Linked DNA regions of Homo sapiens: region 1 is linked to region 2. Evidence: promoter capture Hi-C in human tissues and cell types (Jung and others, 2019). All regions are on one chromosome and are shown on one strand. Each heading gives the region's core, a stretch centred on a gene start or on the middle of the fragment in contact. The rest is flanking DNA. Distances are from core to core; before and after follow the strand shown. Region 1 holds the start of ZNF44 (zinc finger protein 44). Region 2 holds the start of ZNF136 (zinc finger protein 136).

Region 1 (6,115 bases), core at 576-3,075, 130 kb before region 2:
TGCTAAAGTGTAGACATAGATTGCCAGCTATTTCTGCAGATAACACCACTATTGTAGATTAGCATTTGTAGACGTATTTTCAGTTTTTGTTTGTTTGTTTGTTTTTTTTTTGCATGTCTGACACCACCTGCACCTGCCAACTCTGCTCCTGTGGCCCCAACCAGAAGTGATTCAGCATAACAGGATAGGTTTTTTTTTTTTTTGTCTTTTTTTTGTTTTTTTTTGAGACGGAGTTTCGCTCTTGTTGCCCAGGCTGGAGTGCAAAGGCACGATCTCGGCTTGGCGCGATCTCAGCTCACCGCAACCTCCACCTCCCGGGTTCAAGTGATTCTCCCGCCTTAGCCTCCCAGGTAGCTGGGATTACAGACATGTGCCACCACGCCCAGCTAATTTTGTATTTTTAGTAGAGACGAGCTTTCTCCATGTTGGTCAGGCTGGTCTCAAACTCCCGACCTCAGGTGATCCGCCCGCCTGGGCCTCCCAAAGTTCTGGGATTACAGGTGTGAGCCACCGGGCCCGGCCTCTTTTTTTCTTTTTTAAATATGTAGCAGTACAAGCCGCAGACAAGAACCCCTCAGACACCGAGTTGTGGAAGGAAAGGGCTTTATTCAGCTGGGCTGGGAGCATCGGCGGACTCACGTCTCCAAAAACCGAGCTCCCCGAGTGAGCAATTCTTGTCCCTTTTAAGGGCTTACAACTAGGAGTCCGCGTGAGAGGGTCGTGATTGATGGAGCAAACAGTGGGTACGTGACTGGGGGCTGCATGCACCGGTAACCAGAACTGAACAGAACAGGACAGGGATTTTCACAGTGCTTTTCCATACAATGTCTGGAATCATAGATAACACAGTTAGGTCAGAGGTTGATTTTTAACTACCCAGCCCAGGGCACAAGCCGGGTTATCTGCCTGTGGATTTCATTTCTGCCTTTTAGTTTTTACTTCTTCTTTGGAGGCAGAAATTGGGCATAAGACAATATGAGGGGTGGTCTCCTCCCTTATAGTATAGAGACGGAGTTTCACTCTATGTCCAGGCTGGTCTTGAACTACTGGCCTCAAGCGATCCTCCCACCTAGGCCTCCCAAAGTATTGGGATTACAGCGGTGAGCCACCACGCACTGCCAAGAGGACAGATTCCATCCCCAGTGATTTCATCCCCACCCCAACCAGTCAGTAGCAAGCCTAGCTACCTCCACCCTTTCTCCCAAACTGCCCTTGAAAAACCCCTACCAGAGGACCTTGGATGAGAATAATTTGAGTAGTAACTCCGTCTCTCACGTATCGTAGCTGGCCTAGTGTTTATTAAACTTTTTTTTTAACTGCAATACCGTGGTCTTTATTTGCGTAGCGCGCAGAAAGAACCCATCCAGCGCTTATAGTGGAAGAAAGGCTTGACCTTGCAGGCGACAGCCTCATCCCAAATTCCTGGTCCCTGGAGGACATCAGCACCACCCCCCCACCCACCCACCCCCTGTCCCCCGCTGCTACAGTGTGGCCTGTGTGGCCTCGGCTGCCCTCCTGCTCTGAGGCCAAGGGATGGCTCCACTGGACAGTGAGTCTGGGATTCCTTGCACACAATTGTTCAGGAGGAAGAAGCAAAAAGGGCCCACTGCGTACAGGTAGGAAATTCCGCTTTAAGGCAAACGTTTCCCGGGACGGGTCGGGTCACAACGCAGGGAGGAAGCCCGCCCTGCCAGGGGCCGGGTCTGGAACCTGTTCATCCGGCTGCACTCAGCACTGTGAGATCGCTTCTTCTGTCACTCAGTGCCCAGGAGGCGGGACCTGGAGGGCTACCCAATCAAAGTCGTGGGCGGGTTCCTGAGAATTGTCAATCAGGCGCGAGGCAGAGAGGAGGGTGTGACGTTCCAGGAGCTAGTGGCCTCTTCACCCTGGTGACCTCTGTTCCGTATTCTGTCACTGAGAGACGCCCTGGGACATCTGTGGTGGCTTTTGTCGCGCTGGGACCTACCCTGACTACGGGAGTTGGGAGGACCCGGGACACCGCACAGCCGGGAAATGGTGAGTGTGCGGGGCCCGGCGTCCTGAGGCAGGGCGAAGGGCTGGTCGGAACCAGTCGGAACCGGCTGTGGCGGGACCCGGGCCTCGCCGCAGCGTCTTTGGGGTCTGGGACCTGAGCGCCCCCTGCGCACCTCGGTCCTCGGTCCGTTTGGCCGCAGGGTGGGGCTGGGCCGGCAGCCGGGACCCCGGGCGTCCTGTCCCGTCCCTGAGCTGCGACTGCGGCCCCGGCCCCGGCGCCCCTCTCTGGGCAGCTCCGCGCCCTCAGCCCCGCTTCTCCCCAGATTGTGCGGCGGAACCAGTACAGGTTCGCAGCCCAAGTCACTGCACCCGGACGCCGAGGGCTGCAGCAGAAACGGTTTAATAGGAGAGGACACCCTAGATCCGCCTCCGTGAGAGGTTTGAGGATGGGGTGTTTAGGGGTCTGGACGGGGGTGGTTGGGATGTGGGGTCGCTGGTTGGTGGAGAAGTGAGGGGTGAATCTTGGGACTGGAGGTGAAGAAACCGCATTCTGCTGCTGAGTGGGCTTCCTTGTGGGGTCTTCAGCCTGCTTGGCGCCAGCCTTTCCGCTGGAATTCAAGATCTGAGAAAGAACTTAGACGACTCTTGAGCAACTCTCAGAGATCTTATCCCCAGGCCAATGGGGAAGCCGGCGGTCAGCGTCTGCTGTGACCTGACTCTCAGGGAGGCGGCTTCCTGTGAAGCAGCGGGGCTGAGGGCACCTGGTTAATATCTAACTGCAATCTCGCCTCCAGCCTGGCTCGCAGTTCCTGTGAGCCCGGTGAGGAGGCTGCACGGTGACGGTGGGAGGGTCACTAGGCACAAACCAGACTCGTGTGTGGGGTTTGTGTGTGGGAGGAGCTGTGGTCTCTGTGCTCTTCAGTCCTTTCTTTCCAAGGGCGACCATTTCTCCTCCGAGGCTTTCAAAGATATTGGCATCAGGGTCTTTGAGACCTGTCCCTTCATCCTAACTCCTCTTGGGGCTAACAGTAAATCTTTTGGTTTCCAGAGCCTTCCATATGCTAACTTCACTCCTCAATTCCCAGTAACGTTATGAACCCTTTGTCAGCAAGACGATATTTCAAATAGACACAGAATTTTGTCGTTTGTTTTCAGATAGCAATGTATGGCTCTTTTTAAACAGATTTATTTTGTTTTCCTTAACATTTCACATGTGAGGAAGAAGAGAATAACCACCTGACACTGCTGTAAAAAAAACCAAACCTTTGTGCCTCTTTTATCTCCCCTAGGCACAGATGCCTTCTCAGTATGTCCTTTACAGGGTGATGTGACCTCAGCCCACCCTGTATCTTTTCCAGGCCCTGTGTTATGGAACTTTCTGGGGCTACCCTAAGATGCTGGAAGCTGCCAATCTCATGGAGGGCCTAGTGGATATCGGCCCTTGGGTCACTCTTCCCAGAGGACAGCCTGAGGTGTTGGAGTGGGGCCTCCCAAAGGATCAGGTGGATGCACTGGGGTGGGAGGAATCTTCTGGTATATCATTCCTGTAAAAAGCTAACCCCTGGGCTGGGCGCGGTGGCTCACGCCTGTAATCCCAGCACTTTGGGAAGCCGAGGCGGGCGGATCACCTGAGGTCAGGGGTTCAAGACCACCCTGGCCAACATGGTGAAACCCCATCTCTACTGAAAATACAAAAATTAGCCGGGCATGGTGGCAGGTGCCTGTAATCCCAGCTACATGGGAGGCTGAGGCAGGAGAATCACTTGAACCTGGGAGGTGGAGGTTGCAGTGAGCCGAAATCACAATCATGCCATTGCACTCCAGCCTGGGCGACAAGAGGGAAACTCTGTCTCAAAAAAAAAAAAAAAAAAAAAAAAACCTAACCTCTGGGACATTGACATTTTTTTCCCCAAGCCTAGTTTCCATTCCTTGGTGACGCATGGCTTATCAGAAAATTGGATGGTGTTATTCAGGGGACAAGACAAATGATTTCTGCCTTCTGGACTCTCTCCGACTGTGAAGCTAGAAAACTGTTTCTAAAAACTGAAAAACCCACCCAATGAGGTTTTGCATGAGCCTGAAAAAGACATAAGGCAGTGTCTCCTAGGAATGTGGTTGCTGAGCACTTCAATGAGCACCGTGGGGCTGGCGGATGTGCCAGGTGATAGAACGACCTGACCTGACGGTTGAGTGAGACTTGTCTGTGTTCCAGTCAGTTCTGCCCCACCCTGGGTTAGTTACCCTGAAAAGATTTGTTCAGTTATTTCCAATTTAATTTTTTATTAACTGTAAAGGGCATCCTATCATTAGAGATTATAGAGAAGATAAAGTGTTTCTAAAGAGGCCAGAAAGAGTTGGAATTCAGAAAACAAATTATATATATGTAGTTTTCTATTCCTTTTTTTTATTATTTTTATTTTTTATAAGACAGGGTCTCCCTCTGTTGCCCAGGCTGGAGTGTAGTGGCACCATCATGGCTCACTGCAGCTTAGGCAGCCTAGACTGCCTGGGCTCAGCCTCCGGAGTAGCTGGGAATGCCCACCATGCCCTACTAATTTTTGAGTATTTTGTAGTGATGGGGTTTCCTCATGTTGCCAGGCTGGTCTTGAAGTCCCGGGCTCAAGTGATCCTCCTGCCTTGGCCTCCCAAAGTGCTGGGATTACAGGCATGAGCCACTGGACCCAGGCCCTATTCCATTTTTTAAAAACTTTTTTTCTTTTCTTTTCTTTTTTTTTTTTTTCTGAGATGGAGTTTCACTATATTGCCCAGGCTGGAGTGCAATGGTACTATCTTGGTTCACTGCAACCTCTGCCTCCCAGGTTCAAGCAATTCTCCTTCCTCAGCCTCCCGAATAGCTGGGATTACAGGAACATGCCACCATGCCTGGCTAATTTTGTATTTTTAAGTAGAGACAGGGTTTCACCTTGCTGGCCAGGCTGGTCTTGAACTCCTGACCTCAGGTGATCCTCCCGCCTCGGCCAATGAAAGTTCTGGGATTACAGGTGTGAGCCACTGCACGCAGCCTTTTTCTTTTTTTTTTGAGACATGGTCTCCCTCTATCACCCAGGAGTGCTGTGGTACGATCTCAGCTTACTGCAACCTCTGCCTCCAGGGCTCAAGAGATCCTTCCACCTCAGCATCCCAAGTAGCTGCGACTACAGGCGTGCGCCACCACACCTGGCTAATTTTTGTATTTTTGGTAGAGATGGGGTTTCACCGTGTCGCCCAGGCTGGAGCATTTTTAAAAAACTTTTATTTACTTTTATTACCCCAGAGACCATGTAATAGGTTTCTCAGGTCTTTTATTGGATGATTTCAAATGGAATTTCAGGGCTTAGCAGTGTAAATACTACCAAGGGAAAAATTTGGGAAAACTCTTCCATTTTGGCTGCAGAAAAATGAATATATTTTCACAAGAATGTGTGGTAGGTATTTGGTTGAATTATAAAGCTTTATCAAAACTTTAGTTTCTCTTCTTTTTAGGCTGGAGAACTTGGGACAGTGGATAAGTCTGGTCTGTTCCTGTTATCTGGACTTGGCAGATTAATGCAACATTCTGTGGGACTTTGCAATAGCTAAAGAACTTAAATATCCTTTGTTTACTAAAGGCTTCATTATTATGGAAGTAGTAACTGATGTTTATTATCTGAGATGGATAGATACTTGTGCTTTTCTTGTTGAGCTATAAAATAGAAGTGACTTACAATTTCCTTCCCTCCTGTAAACACTGAATTTGAGTGATTTTGATAGATTCATCACACATGGAGTTTTGTTTGTTTGTTTTATGTTTTAAATCCACGTAAGGCATGAAAGGGTAAGCAAATGGCCTTGACTGGGGTGGAGAGGCTTGAGGCCAGTGACTCCAAGTGGAGGCCAATTTTGAGCCTGCAAAGGGAGGTCATTGTGGGCCCAGTTTAGTTGGTTCTTCCTGGGGAGCCTCCCCTGCAGGTGTCCCAGCCTAATCACTCCAGCAATGGGAGGAGCTTTTTTTAAAATTTATTTTTATTTTTATTTATTTATTTATTTATTTATTTGAGGTAGAGTCTCACTCTGTTGCCCAGGCTGGAGTGAAATGCTGTGATCTCAGCTCACTGCAACCTCTGCCTTCCGGGTTCAAGCGATTCTCCTGCCTCAGCCTCTT
Region 2 (6,535 bases), core at 2,457-4,956:
TTGATGAATCCAGCAAAATCAATCTTAATGTTTATGGGAGGGAAGAAAATTAAGGCACATTTACATCATAGCTGAACAGAAAAAGCACAAGAATCTACTATTTTCAGACAAAGATGTCACTTAACTACTATTTCTATGATAACAAATCATTTAGTAAACAAAAATCCTATTAGAGGATTCCTAGTTGTTGCCAGGTCCTGTTCCCTAAGATTTAGAATCTGCTAAGTTCCAATAACAGGAAACAGAACAGTTATTCACCGTCACAAATTCTCCACCTTGCAAGAGAAATTGATGTTTTGGTGAATCTTTGTAATTCCCCAATTTATCTACTAACTTTCTTGGGAAACTATATTCATTTTTCTGAAGCCATAATAGGAGAGTTGGTTCTCCCCACCCCCATTTCTTTTCCCTGATAATATTCTCAAGGTTAAGCCCTGGAATTCCATTTCAAGTCACCCAACAGAACACAGATCTGACAAACATACTACACATATACTACACATGATCTGGGAAAGAATAAAAGAAAATAAGAATTTGTTGTTAAGCAGTTTAAATTTTTTTTCTTTTTTTTTTTGAGACGGAGTCTTGCTCTGTCACCCAGGCTGGAGCACAATAGCATGATCTCAACTCACTGCAACTTCCACTTCCTGGGTTCAAGTGATTCTCCTGCCTCAGCCTCCTGAGTACCTGGGATTATAGGCGCCCACCACCACACCTGGCTAATTTTTGTATTTTTAGCAGAGACGAGTTTTCACCAGGTTGGCCAGGCTGGTCTCAGACTCCTGACCTCAGGTGATCCACCTGCTTCAGCCTCCCAAAGTGCTGGGATTACAGGCGTGAGCCACCGCACCCAGCCAGCAGTTTAAATTTTATTGACCTTCCAGTTTCTTTTAAAAAGTTTAAGGTCACACCGCTAAGTCTGACGTGCTACATACAGATGGTGCAGAATATGAGTATGAAGAGATACACATTGGTCCATGTCCCAAAAGATTACAGAATCATCTCCATAAATACACAAAAGAATTATTGTGAAGACACAAGGGCACTGTCCAGGTTTTCTAAGACACTTTTCTAAGTGACTTGAGGCATAAAATCCACACCACTGTGAACACACACATTGTAGACTTTGTGTCTCTGACACAGACCATCAAAGATTTGGCATCATGACTCTCAAATGTACTGGAATGAGATTCTGCTTCTTAGGTAAAAAGCCACAGCACCTACACATATCATGCAGATAATTACTCCAAAATATGGAGAAATACAGATACAAGCCGTTGAAAATAAGAATTTTTAAAATGTGGAATATAAGACTAATCTCTTTCCCCCTGAAATCTACCTCTTGGGAAATACATTATCTTCTCTATGAAGCTCTACTGATAAAATGCACTTTCAACTAAATGAAATACTCAAGCTGAACTTGTTGTTAAGGCAAGAATCCCAGGGAGAAGCAGTGCTGACCTGGAATACAGACATTCGTCTGACTCCAGTGTCAGCAGAGGTCATCTTATCTATCAGTTGGAACATCCCTCTACCCCCATAGTGCTCACTGAAATGCTCAGTGACCACCCGCCCAAGAGACACTGCATTACGCGACACTGTGTACCCAAAGTGCATTTTGTTTTTCAGGTTATTCCACCACCTCGCTGAGATAGTTTTTCTCCCTTCACAAGGCTGAGAGAATACAAAGGACAGGAATCATTTCCGTCTTTTCCCTTGTCGACCTAAAAAGTAGAGGCTGAAACACAAAATATGACCCAAAGTGTCTGAAAAAGGGGGACAGGATGTGGGCTGATACAAAGTTGTTTGTCAGGAATTCTCACTGATTTACAGAAGTAACATTGATAAGCGCGTGGCTATGCACTGTTAAGCTATAGGGTGTGGGTTCCAGGGTCCCGTGTTGCATTAGTAAGTTGATTATACCTACTTGTGGCAATAGCAGTTTCAAAAGATGAATTCATAGCTTCAGGGAGTTAGAAGGTGATTGCTGTATCACTTGAATGTCTCTATGTGCCCGTTCATTTAAAAGGACCCACATTTATCAGACGAAAATTATTTTTTTGAGGCCGGGTACAGTTACGCCTGTAATCCCAGCACTCTGGGAGGCCAAGGCAGGCGGATCGCGAGGTCAGGAGATCAAGACCATCCTGGCTAACAAGGTGAAACTCCGTCTCTACTAAAAACACAAAAAATTAGCCGGGCGTGGTGGCATGCGCCTGTAGTCCCAGGTACTGGGGAGGCTGAGGCAGGAGAATCGCTTGAATCCGGGAGGCAGAGGTTGCAGTGAGCCGACATCACGCCACTGCACTCCAGCTTGGGCGACAGAGAGACTCCGTCTCAAAAAAAAAAAAAAAAAAAAAAAGTTATCTGGGAGTGGTGGCGCAAAACTGTGGTCCCAACTACAGGGGAGGCTGAGGCAGGAGAATCGCTTGAACCCAGAAGATGGAGGTTGCAGTGAGCCGAGATCACGTCACTGCACTCCAGCCTAGGCGACAGAGCGAGACTCTTTCAAAACACACAAAAAATTTTCTTTTCTCAATCCTCAATACCAGCATCTGATTGGCTGACCACCAGTGTGTCTCCAAAGGATGGAAACTGGGGTTGGGGGAGGAAAAGCTGAGTGCCCCCAGAGGTTGGCTATTTAGAAGCAGGGTATGCTAGATTTATCCTAGTCCCAGGGCATTCTCCCAGCCTTCTATTTCAACTGTCCTCTAGGAAGACTCACCCAAGACCCAATATTCACTAGATCCTCCAAGAGACTTGGCAGCTGTGGGCAGCTTGAGTCAGCCCCAGACAGTTTTGAAACCCAGAACCAGGAAAAAATAAATAGGAGGGGGCGCTGAAGGCATATCACCCTGTAAAGATTCCAAAGGGGAACCTCAACTCAAAGACATTCTGATGAGGTATCTGTGCATAGAGGAGACAAAAGGACAAGCACAAAGGTTTCTTACAGCGGAGTGTCAAGGCTATGAACAGAAAACAAACCTTGATGAAAGAGTAATCCATTGCTTTGTTGAAAAATAAACAATGAAAGCACAATATCTGAAATGTAGAATATAGGAGAAACGGTTGCTAATGTCGTGAATGGAAGGGGAGAGGTTGGCGTTTGGAAAAGCGAAAAGAGAACAGGAAATTTGGGGATTTACTGCAAGCCCTGGAAACAGCAGGCTGGGGGACAGAGTGAGGATTTGGGACCCTGCATCCCATACACTTAGAAAACTCAGGGAAAAACGGGTGTCCTCTGTGGAGAGAAAAGGAACTGGGAACCTCATACACCACAGCTCCTTCCACGCACAAGTCAGGATTTCCCCCACCCCATGACCCTCGCGTGGGCCCCGCACAATCTGAAGAGACTTGGGTCTTCGGGGCCGGGGCCGCAATCGCGGCACAGGGCGGGACGAGGACGCCCGGGGTCCCGGCTGCCGGCCCAGCCCCACCCTGAGGCCGAGGGTACCAAGGGCTGAGCTGCGCCAGAGGGACTCGGTACGCAGACCCAGAGTCGCCCACGGGAAGGCCCGGGCCGCGCCACAGCCAGTTCCGGTCGTCCAACCAGCCCCTCCTCCCTGTCTCGGGACGCAGGGCCCGACACACTCACCATTTCCTGACTCCCGGGTGTCCCAGCTTCCTCCCTCCGGATCCCAAGGCAGGTACAGGAAACCGCGCCACAGAGACTCCAGGCGAGCCACTCTGGGCCTCTGGGACTAGCGAAGCGAAACCAAGTACGGCAGACGCGAGAAATGAAAATCCCGCGAGAAGGTTGAACGTCTGCAGCTGCGTCCCCGACGGCGCGCCTGATTGGACCGATCGCAGAGCTCCTCCCCGGTGCCCCTGATTGGGTACAGCTTCGGGCTCTGCCCCCTGCATCTTGACAGATGTGAATGACAGGAGATGTGAAGCATAGATGAGTGAAGCGGGAATGAGGGGTCTTGGCCCCAGCCCTCAAACGCAGGGTGGACTTCTTCCCCTCGTCCCCTTCACTGTACTTGGTCTGCGGGGGATGGGGAGATGGGAGATACTTGCATTTTAGCAGAACTTAATCCGGGTTTACCAAAGGAGATACTTCCTGTACTCAGTGGGTCATTTCTTCATCTACCTCTTGCATGAGGAGTCACAGGTGTGCGCAGGGAGTTCCAGGCAGGACTGGAACAGAAGAAAGGGCGTGATATTCCCAGGGATCGGAAATTTGGGATGAGGATATGGGAAGCGTGCCCAAGGCTTTCTCATACCATACCTCTTTATCTCTCTCTATTTTTTACTTTATTTACTTATTTATTACTTTATTTACTTATTTATTACTTTATTTATTTATTTGAGACAGGGTCTAGCTCTGCCACCCAGGTTAGAGTGCAATGGCATGATCATAGCTCACTGCAGCCTCCATCTCCTGGGTTCAAGCGAACCTTCCGCTTCAGTCCCCTGAGTAGTAGAGACTACAGGTACATGCCACCAAGCCCGGCAAATTCTTTAATTTTTTGTAGAGACGGGATTTCGTTTGTTGTCCAGGCTGGTCTTGAACTCCTAGCCTCAAGTGAACCTCCCACTTTCGCCTCCCAAATCAATCTACTCATTTTCACCCAAGAAAATAAAAAACTGCCAACAAGTGAATAAAATTATTAAATACATGGAAAAACAAGTTCTATTTCCGTAATCTGTAAAGAAATCAAAAGGGAAGTAAAGCGAAAATTTGAACTAGCTCAGATAAGCAGGGCACTTCAGAACATTTAAAAAGGAAAAGATGAATTCAGAAGGTAGAACATATTCCCAAGCTTAAGAGTCAGTGACTGCTGAAGTGGAGCCACAGAGTACATTAGACCCTGATGATGAGGCAGGAAACCTAAGGATTTAACTCTGGGAGCTCAACATGCCCTCCTGTCACAGCATCACAATGTGGGAACGCTCCCTCCTTCAATACCTTAATAATTTACACCAGCAGAAAACTCTCACCTGTGGTCAATTTAGGCCCCTTGAAATTCCAACCTCTCTAGCTCATAAACCATTTCTCTGGAACGCTACCTAAATGAGTCTCTAAATATGATCTTTACATATTTTCTTCATATATACAAATTACAGCCTGACTGCAGCAACTCTATACATAGAAAAATCAAGGCCGGGCACAGTGGTTCATGCCTGTAATCCCCAACACTTTGAGAGGCCGAGGCGGGCGGATCACTTGAGGTCAGGAGTTCAAAACCAGCCTGGCCAAGATGGCGAAACCCCGTCTCTACTAAAATTACAAAAATTAGCCGGGCGCCTATAATCCCAGCTTCTGGGGAGGCTGAGGCACAAGAATCGCTTGAACCCGGGAGGTAGAGGTTCCAGTGAGCCGAGATCGCGCCACTGCACTCCAGCCTGGGTGACAGAGCAAGACTCCGTCTCAAAAAACAAAAAGTTTTCCGGAAAACTACCTTGGGAAACTAGAGGTACAACCTCAGAAAGGAGAGAAACCCGCACGTGCATTTGCCTGTGAAGTTCCTGCTTTCCAGGGCTCTGCAGCTTCTCAGAATCCACACTCCTGGAGCTGGAGCTGGAGCTGTTCGGAGCAGCTGGAGACTACCTACAGGGGAAGGCAGGCTGCCCAGGAAGCAATCGGGGGAGCTCCCTTTCCCTCCCTTTGCAGGCTCCAGATTAGTCTCAGTGTGGATCACCGGCCTCAGGCTATGCTGCCCCCTGCAAGTTTTCCACCTGCTTTTCACCCACATTGTTCAGTTCCACGAGGCAAACACCCTCAATCCCAGTGTTCGAAAGAGAATCCAGCAGAGTCCCTGCTTTCCTCCTGTGTTTACCGTAAAGTAGAAGAGAAAAATTTCAAGACAGTTTTAAGTGGATTTTAAAACTGGCAAATAATTATTCCTTTGATAAAATGAAGAAGCCAGCAAACTATTATTTCGACATTAACAAACTGTTATATAAAACCACTAATGAAGGTCGGGCGCGGTGGCTCACGCCTGTAATCTCAGCACTTTGGGAGGGCGAGGCGGGCGGATCACCTAAGGTTAGGAGTTCGAGACCAGCCTGACCAACATGGAGAAACCTCGTCTCTAAAAGTACAAAATTAGCCAGGCGTGGTGGCGCGTGCCTGTAATCCCAGCTACTCAGGAGGCTGAGGCAGGAGAATCGCTTGAACCTGGGAGGCGGAAGTTGCCGTGAGCTGAGATCACACCATTGCACTCCAGCCTGGGCAACAAGAGCAACACGGTGAAACTCTGTCTCTACTAAAATACAAAAAATTAGCTGGGCGTGGCAGTGTGCGCCTGTAGTCCCAGCTACTCGGGAGGCTGAGACAGGAGAATTGCTTGAACCCCAGAGGCAGAGGTTGCAGTGAGTTGAGATCGCGCCACTGCACTCCAGCCTGGGCGACAGAGCGAGACTCCGTCTCCAAAAAAAAAAAAAAAAACTAATGAAATATGGACTCTCTTCTGCTTCAGCAGCTCCCTGACCTTCACAGTTGATGGTTGTCACCAGGTGCTCTGTGTCAGGAGATGTACATGTGCAGTTTAGCCATTGAAAATTCTCTCTTAAATCGGGCGCGGTGGCT

The links. The method cuts DNA at HindIII sites, captures the fragments that hold promoters and counts their contacts. A contact is called where the count stands out against the background at its distance.
Region 1: a contact is called between the fragment with the promoter of ZNF44 here and the fragment with the promoter of ZNF136 in region 2, in 2 of the 25 tissues and cell types used here (IMR-90 fibroblasts and adrenal gland).

What each region holds. Positions count from the first base shown.
Region 1 is chr19:12,290,593-12,296,707 of GRCh38, reverse strand. ZNF44 (zinc finger protein 44) reads left to right here and starts at 1,825. Exons shown (of 4, transcript NM_016264.4): 1 at 1,825-2,016. The coding sequence starts at 2,014. RefSeq lists an enhancer at 1,441-1,490 and a silencer at 2,041-2,270. The HindIII fragment of the contact is 22,646 bases long and covers 1-6,115 here.
Region 2 is chr19:12,160,267-12,166,801 of GRCh38, reverse strand. It overlaps ZNF136 (zinc finger protein 136), which reads right to left and starts at 3,706. Exons shown (of 4, transcript NM_003437.5): 1 at 3,596-3,706. The coding sequence starts at 3,598. RefSeq lists enhancers at 3,606-3,765, 3,776-3,865. The HindIII fragment of the contact is 18,447 bases long and covers 1-6,520 here.